2 separate regions of the Homo sapiens genome follow, and region 1 is linked to region 2. The links are contacts of gene promoters, found by promoter capture Hi-C in human tissues and cell types (Jung and others, 2019). All regions are on one chromosome and are shown on one strand. Each heading gives the region's core, a stretch centred on a gene start or on the middle of the fragment in contact. The rest is flanking DNA. Distances are from core to core; before and after follow the strand shown. Region 1 has its middle 33 kb from the start of SIX2. Region 2 holds the start of SIX2 (SIX homeobox 2).

Region 1 (3,452 bases), core at 603-3,102, 33 kb before region 2:
TTCTACATCACATTCTGGTCTGGGCCATCCTCCCTTCTCCTGTAGTTACTTGAGTGAGTCTCTGTTTCTTACAACCAACAGAACCTAAGGTTCATCTTCCTGTTCCTCAGGCCTCTCCAGAGATTGGGAGCCAGGTCTAATGGGGACCCCCAAACCAGAAGCAGTGGCAGGGACCAGTTCAGCTCATCTCAATGCATTGCACTTGGAGTCTGGTATCCAAGTTAATCCAACAAGTGTGCAATTTGAGCACTTATCACTGTGAGACCCTGTGCAAGATTTGCAGAGGTAAAAAGTAAAGAAAGAGTAAGAAAGCCCTTGACTTCAAGGAGGGTATTATCTAAATAGGATGTAAGAAACACAACTAAGTCAGTACAAAGCTGAACAGATGTGTGTGTCAAAGAGGAGCAAACACAATGCTTTGAAGTTTCAGGGAAGTTGTGGTCGTGTTGGGATATGAGGTTCAGAAAAGACTGGTCAGATTTGCTGTGGATGCAAAGGAAAAATGTAGGAAATACTGAGGTTGAAGCTGGGTGTGGTGGTGCATGCCTATAGTCCCAGCTACTCGGCAGGCTGAAGCAGTAGGAGCATGTGAGCCCAGCCTCAGCAAATGGAAAGGAAAGAGAAAGGAAAGGAAGAAGAGAGAGTAAGGAAGGAAAGGAAGAAAGAAGAGACAGTAAGGAAGGAAGAAAGCAGAGAGGGAGGGACGGAGGGACAGAGGGAGGGAGGGAGGGAGGGAGGGAGGGAGGGAGGGAGGAAGGAAGGAAGGAAGGAAGATGCACAATTGCTTCTTTTCCTCCTACAGGTTTTATGAGACCAGAGGTAATTCCCTGCTGCTGTTCAGCGTTGCTGTGGCTAACAGTTCCAACCTTCTGAAGTGCCGGCTGGTTGGGGCTGTCTCTCTGGCAACTGATTAGCCCATAAACCCTGCCTTGCTGGTCCTGCAGCGTTCTCCAGTGCAAGTGACTGAAAGCATGCCTTTCCCAAAAAGGAAAATATGTAAGATTTAGTTCCCAAGTTATGTTTCATGTTTACAACGGTCTTCTCATCATCGTTAGTTGGATTAAATTTAGTGATTACAAAGATTTTTGTTTTTATCAATAATACCCTTGATCTTGAAAAACAAGAGCAATTTAAACAGACCCAGATGCTCTAAACTCCACCACATGTTTGTTGTATTTCTTTTAATCGCATTGTATTTGAGGCTGTCATTTAAATCAATTTAATATGAATGTTATTCCTATGGCCATGATTCCCTGGCTTCTCATACTAAAGCTTTGCTGGTTTTTGTTACTCAATTGCAGAACCTTCAAAGAAAAATGTTTAATATTAATTATTATGTTATCCTCCACTCTTGTGAAATAGGTATGTCCCCTTACCAAAAGCACTGTGGAAGCCAGAATGTAACGCCATGAAAAATTACCCTGGGACCACAGAGTCATCAGATTTTAAATCACTGCTGTCTATTCCTTTTCAGAAAGACTTTTTCCCCTTTAAAATGGATCATTTAGTTGCATTATTATCTCTACGATTATCAACAACTCTTTCTGTCAATGTCATTCAACTGAGACTTATTGAGTGTCCACTGAGTTTCTGTAAATGTTTCCTTCATCTGTAAATCAAAATAGCTCCAAGGACTTTGGTCATGGGACAGTGAATTCTGGGGGAGGAGAGGAGAGAGAAGTGGGGAAGGCAGGCATGAAACAATACAATCTCAGGGTGTGTGTATAAGGTAAAGAGAACAAGGCTTGCCATCAGGGGACATGAATTGAACCGTAATTTCAGAATCAATCAGTGACCTTGGGCATGTCATTTAACCACATTTGAATTTTAGTTTTCCAATGAAAGAAACATGTACCTAAAACCTCTGTGAGAAAACAGCCCTCTGGACTTGGTGGGTAACACTTAGATAGTTGCTGCCTCAACTGCAGACCTGCATGAAGCCGGCATTGCTTCCAGTCTGTGGCAGACAAAGCCTCCTCTGAAGACCTGAGGTTTTTCCTGGGGTCCTTCCAGCCTTGCATATTAAGGGAGAACTAAGGAGGGCTAAGCTGTGTAGGAGAGGCTACCTGGGTAGGGATGGTGATTTAGCGCCCACTCCCTGGAGAAAGCCCAGAGGAAGCTAAGAAGGAAAGCCAGCAAGTGCCTGCAGAGGTGGCCCAACCCTTTGGGACAAGAAGGGAGAAATAAATCTCTTCTTGGGACCCTCTGGGAATAAAACAGGTGGGCAGGAGGTCTCTGTTCTCTTGAAGCCAGCCTGGTTTTTACTCTTCTTCTACTCTTATTTTCTGGGTCCTCCCTTAAGATTTCCAGATTTTGAGAAATTCCAGCTGCCACATCTGAGCTAAAGGGAGATAAGACAAAGGGTTTGTGCCCAGTTGGACTGGGGCATTGAAAGCGCAGCCACAGGCTGGGTGCGGTGGGGCATGCCTGTAATCCCAGCACATTGGGAGGCCAAAGCGAGAGGATTGCTTGAGCCCAGGAGTTTGAGATCAGCCTGAGCAGCATAGTAAGATCCTGTCTCTACTCAAAAAAAAAAAAAAAAAGAAGCCAGGCACGGTAGCACACACCTGTAGTCCCAGCTACTCAGGAGGCTGCCATGGGAACATCATTTGAGGCCCAGAGTTCCAAGCTGCAATGAGCCATGATCGTGTCACTGCACTCCAGCCTGAGCAACAGAGCAAGACCCTGTCCCAGAAAAAGAGGAAAAAAAAGAATAAAATAGCAACCTCAGCTACTGGGCCTAAGAAGGTAGTGGGAGCCAAGGGGTGGCAGTGGGGTGGGTAGTGGCAAGCCCCAAGAATGACTAGCATTGACACACAAGGGCCATTTGGTCCCAGTTGTTTTTCCCACATCAAGAAAGCCCTTCCAGAGCTAAATCTACTTGGAGTTTTATTTTATTACCAGCAGCAAAATTCTCTGACACTATCTCCAAGTCTCATACCCCAGACACCTCAGTACCTGAAACCCCAGTGGACTAACAACCCCTGCCAAACACTCAGCTAGGAGCAAACATTCTGGACTCTTTCCAGCAGTGGCAAGGGGTTCCATGGAGCCAACCACACTCTCCCCCAGGTGAGAAATACTCTTCCAGGCCATTGACTGCATCCTCACTGCACATACTGGATGGCTAAAAAGGGTATGCAGTCTATGGCCTGGAAAGAACTTCTTCAGTTTGTATGCTCAAACATTGACCTCATCAGTTCAGACTCTGCTCCAATCCACAGAGCTGGCACACCCACATGACTCCCCTTTGTGATGTAAATAGCTGGATAATCCAGAAGGGACACCAAGCCTGGGACTCTGTTCTAGAAATTAATCTGCTGTCAGAGGTCAAGTGCCTTCCACTGCATGTCAAAAGGCCACTTAAAAAATCAGTCTAGCCCCCTTTATCATCTGTGTTTGTTATCAGTGTGCTACACCAAGCATGGTAAATGGGAGCTCCCAGTTCCAGG
Region 2 (4,030 bases), core at 1,523-4,022:
GAGGAGGAGAATGAGGGGCATATTGACACACACCCATACATCGGGTAACGGTGCTCCAGGTTTTCAGTGCTTCCTCTGTAATGACTTTTCATATGGCACACAGTATGTTATCCACGGTGGCAGGCCCCATGTCTGTTCTGTTCTCTCTGTGCTGCTTAGTGTTGCCTGGAGGCTCCTGGCAGGTCTGATTCATGGGCTTAGGGCCCAGGGGCTGCAAAGAGGGCAGCACTTGGAGGAACAGTGAGTCTGAAGCTCCAGAAAAATCTGCTTTCACTGAACATAGGCGGGACCCAGTCCTGGGGGAAGTTTAATCTTAAAGCTTCATGGGTCAGAGGAGTGGCACATTCATGGTGAAGGCTGTGGCTGAGGTTGCAGAGATTGTATGCTTTTTCAGGGTTAGTGTTCTTAGACCCACCCCATCCCAGAACCAGCAGGAACTTGAGAGATTACCCAGGCTTCAATCTAATAGTGGAAGAGAATGAAGAGCAGACTGGGGACTGGCCCAGGGTCTCATACCAGGAAGTGACTGCCTGGTCTCACTCACCCACACCAGACCAGGGTGCTCCTCTGCAGCCCCAGCCTAAGCACGCTAAGATGTAAGATGGCCATTGCCAGGGCTGGGACCAGCCAGCCAGGTGAATCCTTTTAACCACGTAGCTGAAGGAGACGTGCTGAAAAGAGTACGTTGCACTTTTGTTGGAGGTCAGCAAATTGGGCTTTGAACCTCATCACAGTCTGCGGTAAATTCTTCTCCATGTCTCCCAGGGTCCTTAGATCCAACTCTGGGGCAGCCCCTGTGCAGCAGTGCATAGGACTCTGGATAGGGTGGCCTGGACACAGCAGACCTCCTCCCAGCCCACAGATACAGACTCTAAAGATGCCACCTGGATTTCTGCAGAAAGCTTCCCCTTTCTGCACCCGCACTGGCTTGGGACCTACTTTGTCAGCCCTGTGGCCTCATTCAACATGCCAGGGTAGGCCCCTGGAAGCTAAAGTCTTAAGAGGAGTCCCAGGGTTCCATTCTCTCATGCCTACAACACTCCCAAAGGACTTCCGGAATGCTGCAGCACAGGGAAAATTTTTGAAATCTTGCAGAGAAGGAAATAAACACAAAGGCATAAATATATGCCTTACCATAGACACCAAGCAAAACCAAAAGTTGAACCCAGGGCTCTAGACTCCCATTCCGCGCTCCTAGCACAAACTCCATAGAAAGCATAAAAGGGTGGGAAAGAAGGAACTGGCCTAGACTCGGGTTCCATAGCCCTAGACTGGCTGAGGGCAGAGCCCAGGATTTGTGCTGGCTTGGGTCAGGCACTGAGTATGGCCCTAGGAGCTCCTGGCCTGCAGCAGCTGAGGGGGGAAGAGGAGGAAACTGAAGGAAGTGGAAAGGACATGTCCGGGAAGGAGCTAAGCCCCGGGCTTTTCAAAACGTAGAGCAAGAACACACCCATCCTCAGTTCTCCCACCTTTGTGCGAGCCCTTCTCCCACAGGACCAGCACCACATGTTTCCATTGGCACCCTGACAAAGAAGCAAAAAACAGGACCCCCTTTTAAAGCACCTCATCCCGGAGCTCAGCGAGCCGGTTCCCAGGCTGGAGTGGCCAGGAGCCGAGCCGATCCCCAGCGGCGAAGCGGGAGGACTGGGAATCTTGCCTCCGTTCTCCTCCCCGACCACCCACCGGGGAAGCCCCACCACCGTCCTAGAGTCCCTGCCGTCGCCCCTCTCCCCCGCCCCGGTGGGCAGACTGCGGGTCTGCGCCGTCCGGGGTTCTGCGTCGCAGCTGCCGGCCGGAGTCAGCTTCCATAGAGGCCACACGGAACTGCCTGGCGCTCCTCGGGCTGTGGGACCCGTGGGGTTAAGTCTGAGTCCCCGCCCGGCGAGGAGCAGAGAGCGCAGAGTTGGGGCGGTACAGGCCGCCAGGCAGCCGGCGGGGCTAGGAGAGGGAGGAAAGGCGGGATCCTCCGGGAAGTCGATTCTCCGGCGTCCGCCTGCGGCCACTGCCAAATCTTCCCCATTTCTTTCGTCTACTCCCTCCCCTTTTCCCTCGAGGACCGCTGAGTCCAGAGTTTCTAGGATGGGGGTGGGGCGCTGTCAGCAGAAAAAGCCAAGTCTTTGGGCGGCACCCGAGCACGTCCAAACTCTCCCATCCCACTGGCCTGCGCCGGGGTAGAATGTGCCCGGTGAACAGAGAGCCTGGGAGGGACGCGGTGACCTGGGGAGAAGGGGAACCCTGTAGGGTCTGGGCGAGGCTGCAGAGCCCTCTCCTAGCCAAAGCTGCCCAAACTTTCTTCCCCTGGAGTCTCCTTCCACCCCTCTCCCTCCCCTTCCTCCTGGACACCCCCTTAAACGGTCTCCGCCTTCCCTTCTCTCCTCTTCTCTCCCCACCTCGATCCACCCCTTTTCGTCTTCGCCCGCTCCCCCCGCTCTCCTGTCCTCCTCCTCCCTCCCTCTTTGGGCATCCGCCCCGTCAATCTCCGCCGCCGCCGGCCCCAACCCGGCCCCTCTCCGCCTCCCAGGCTCTCAGAGCGCCCCAGGCTCCAGTAGAGCCGCCCTCAGTTCTGCGCGGAGCGGGGCGATCTGTCAGCGGAGCCGGCCGGGGGGAGCCGCCCGGCCCGCCGAGGCTCGGGTTACCAGTGACTGACAGCGTCTCCATGGCGAATAATTTGACTCCGACTATTGTCTGGCGCTGGCAGGCCCCGGGTCAGATAACCGGACCAATCAGGGCGCGGGCCGCCGCGCCTCATGCCCGCTTAGAATAATATTATTAAGAAAGCTGAGAGCCAGCTAGACGGGAGGGAGAACGAGTGAGAAGCGAGCGAGGGAACGGCGGGCGGGCGCGGAGCATGCGGAGCGGCGCCCCGGGCGGCCCCCGGGCTTGGGCGAGGGCTTGGGCCAGGCGCGCGGGCCGTTGGGGTTCGGAGCTTCGTGGGACCCGCGGCCGGCGCGGGGACGTACGGCAGTGACTCGGGGCTCACCGGGGGCCAGTGCCGGGCCAGGGGGCCAGCCCCGCCCGCGTCTCGGCCCGGACGGCCCGGCGAGGAAGCTCCCATGCGGGACCGCGCGGCCCGGTGAGGGCGCGCGCGGGCGGGCGGGGACGCAGCCGGCACCATGTCCATGCTGCCCACCTTCGGCTTCACGCAGGAGCAAGTGGCGTGCGTGTGCGAGGTGCTGCAGCAGGGCGGCAACATCGAGCGGCTGGGCCGCTTCCTGTGGTCGCTGCCCGCCTGCGAGCACCTTCACAAGAATGAAAGCGTGCTCAAGGCCAAGGCCGTGGTGGCCTTCCACCGCGGCAACTTCCGCGAGCTCTACAAGATCCTGGAGAGCCACCAGTTCTCGCCGCACAACCACGCCAAGCTGCAGCAGCTGTGGCTCAAGGCACACTACATCGAGGCGGAGAAGCTGCGCGGCCGACCCCTGGGCGCCGTGGGCAAATACCGCGTGCGCCGCAAATTCCCGCTGCCGCGCTCCATCTGGGACGGCGAGGAGACCAGCTACTGCTTCAAGGAAAAGAGTCGCAGCGTGCTGCGCGAGTGGTACGCGCACAACCCCTACCCTTCACCCCGCGAGAAGCGTGAGCTGGCGGAGGCCACGGGCCTCACCACCACACAGGTCAGCAACTGGTTCAAGAACCGGCGGCAGCGCGACCGGGCGGCCGAGGCCAAGGAAAGGTACGAGTAAGTAGACCTTCTTCGGCGCCAGCTCCCCGGGGCCCAAGGGAGGGGTTCGCAGGGCTTCTGCCGGTCCCCCGGAGAGGCCTAAACTGGGCCCCCAGGCCCGGCCACAGCCCAGCGGCAGCCCGGCCTGACTTGGACGATGCTTAGGCCTTTCTATGCCGGAGACCCGGCGAGCAGGGATTTGTCTAAAGCGGGCAGAGCAATTCAGGAAGTTGTCAACTAACTACTCGGTCGCTAGAGGAAAAGGGTGGAGAAGCAGAGAGCTTCGGGGCAGCGCAGAACTGTGGGCCTGTATCCCCTGTGAGGCAGGCACAGTAGGTCTGGTCATCCTCAGGACAGAGGGGTTTGAGC

What was found. Contacts are between HindIII fragments. The study calls those that stand out against the background at their distance.
Region 1: a contact is called between a fragment that was not itself captured here and the fragment with the promoter of SIX2 in region 2, in 1 of the 25 tissues and cell types used here (IMR-90 fibroblasts).

The regions. Positions count from the first base shown.
Region 1 is chr2:45,040,794-45,044,245 of GRCh38, reverse strand. No RefSeq gene overlaps it. Among named protein-coding and RNA genes, the nearest start is that of SIX2, 33 kb to the right of the region's middle. RefSeq lists an enhancer at 3,313-3,452. The HindIII fragment of the contact is 7,520 bases long and covers 1-3,452 here.
Region 2 is chr2:45,008,194-45,012,223 of GRCh38, reverse strand. It overlaps SIX2 (SIX homeobox 2), which reads left to right and starts at 2,772. Exons shown (of 2, transcript NM_016932.5): 1 at 2,772-3,673. The coding sequence starts at 3,114. RefSeq lists enhancers at 1,700-2,299, 3,304-4,030. The HindIII fragment of the contact is 8,583 bases long and covers 612-4,030 here.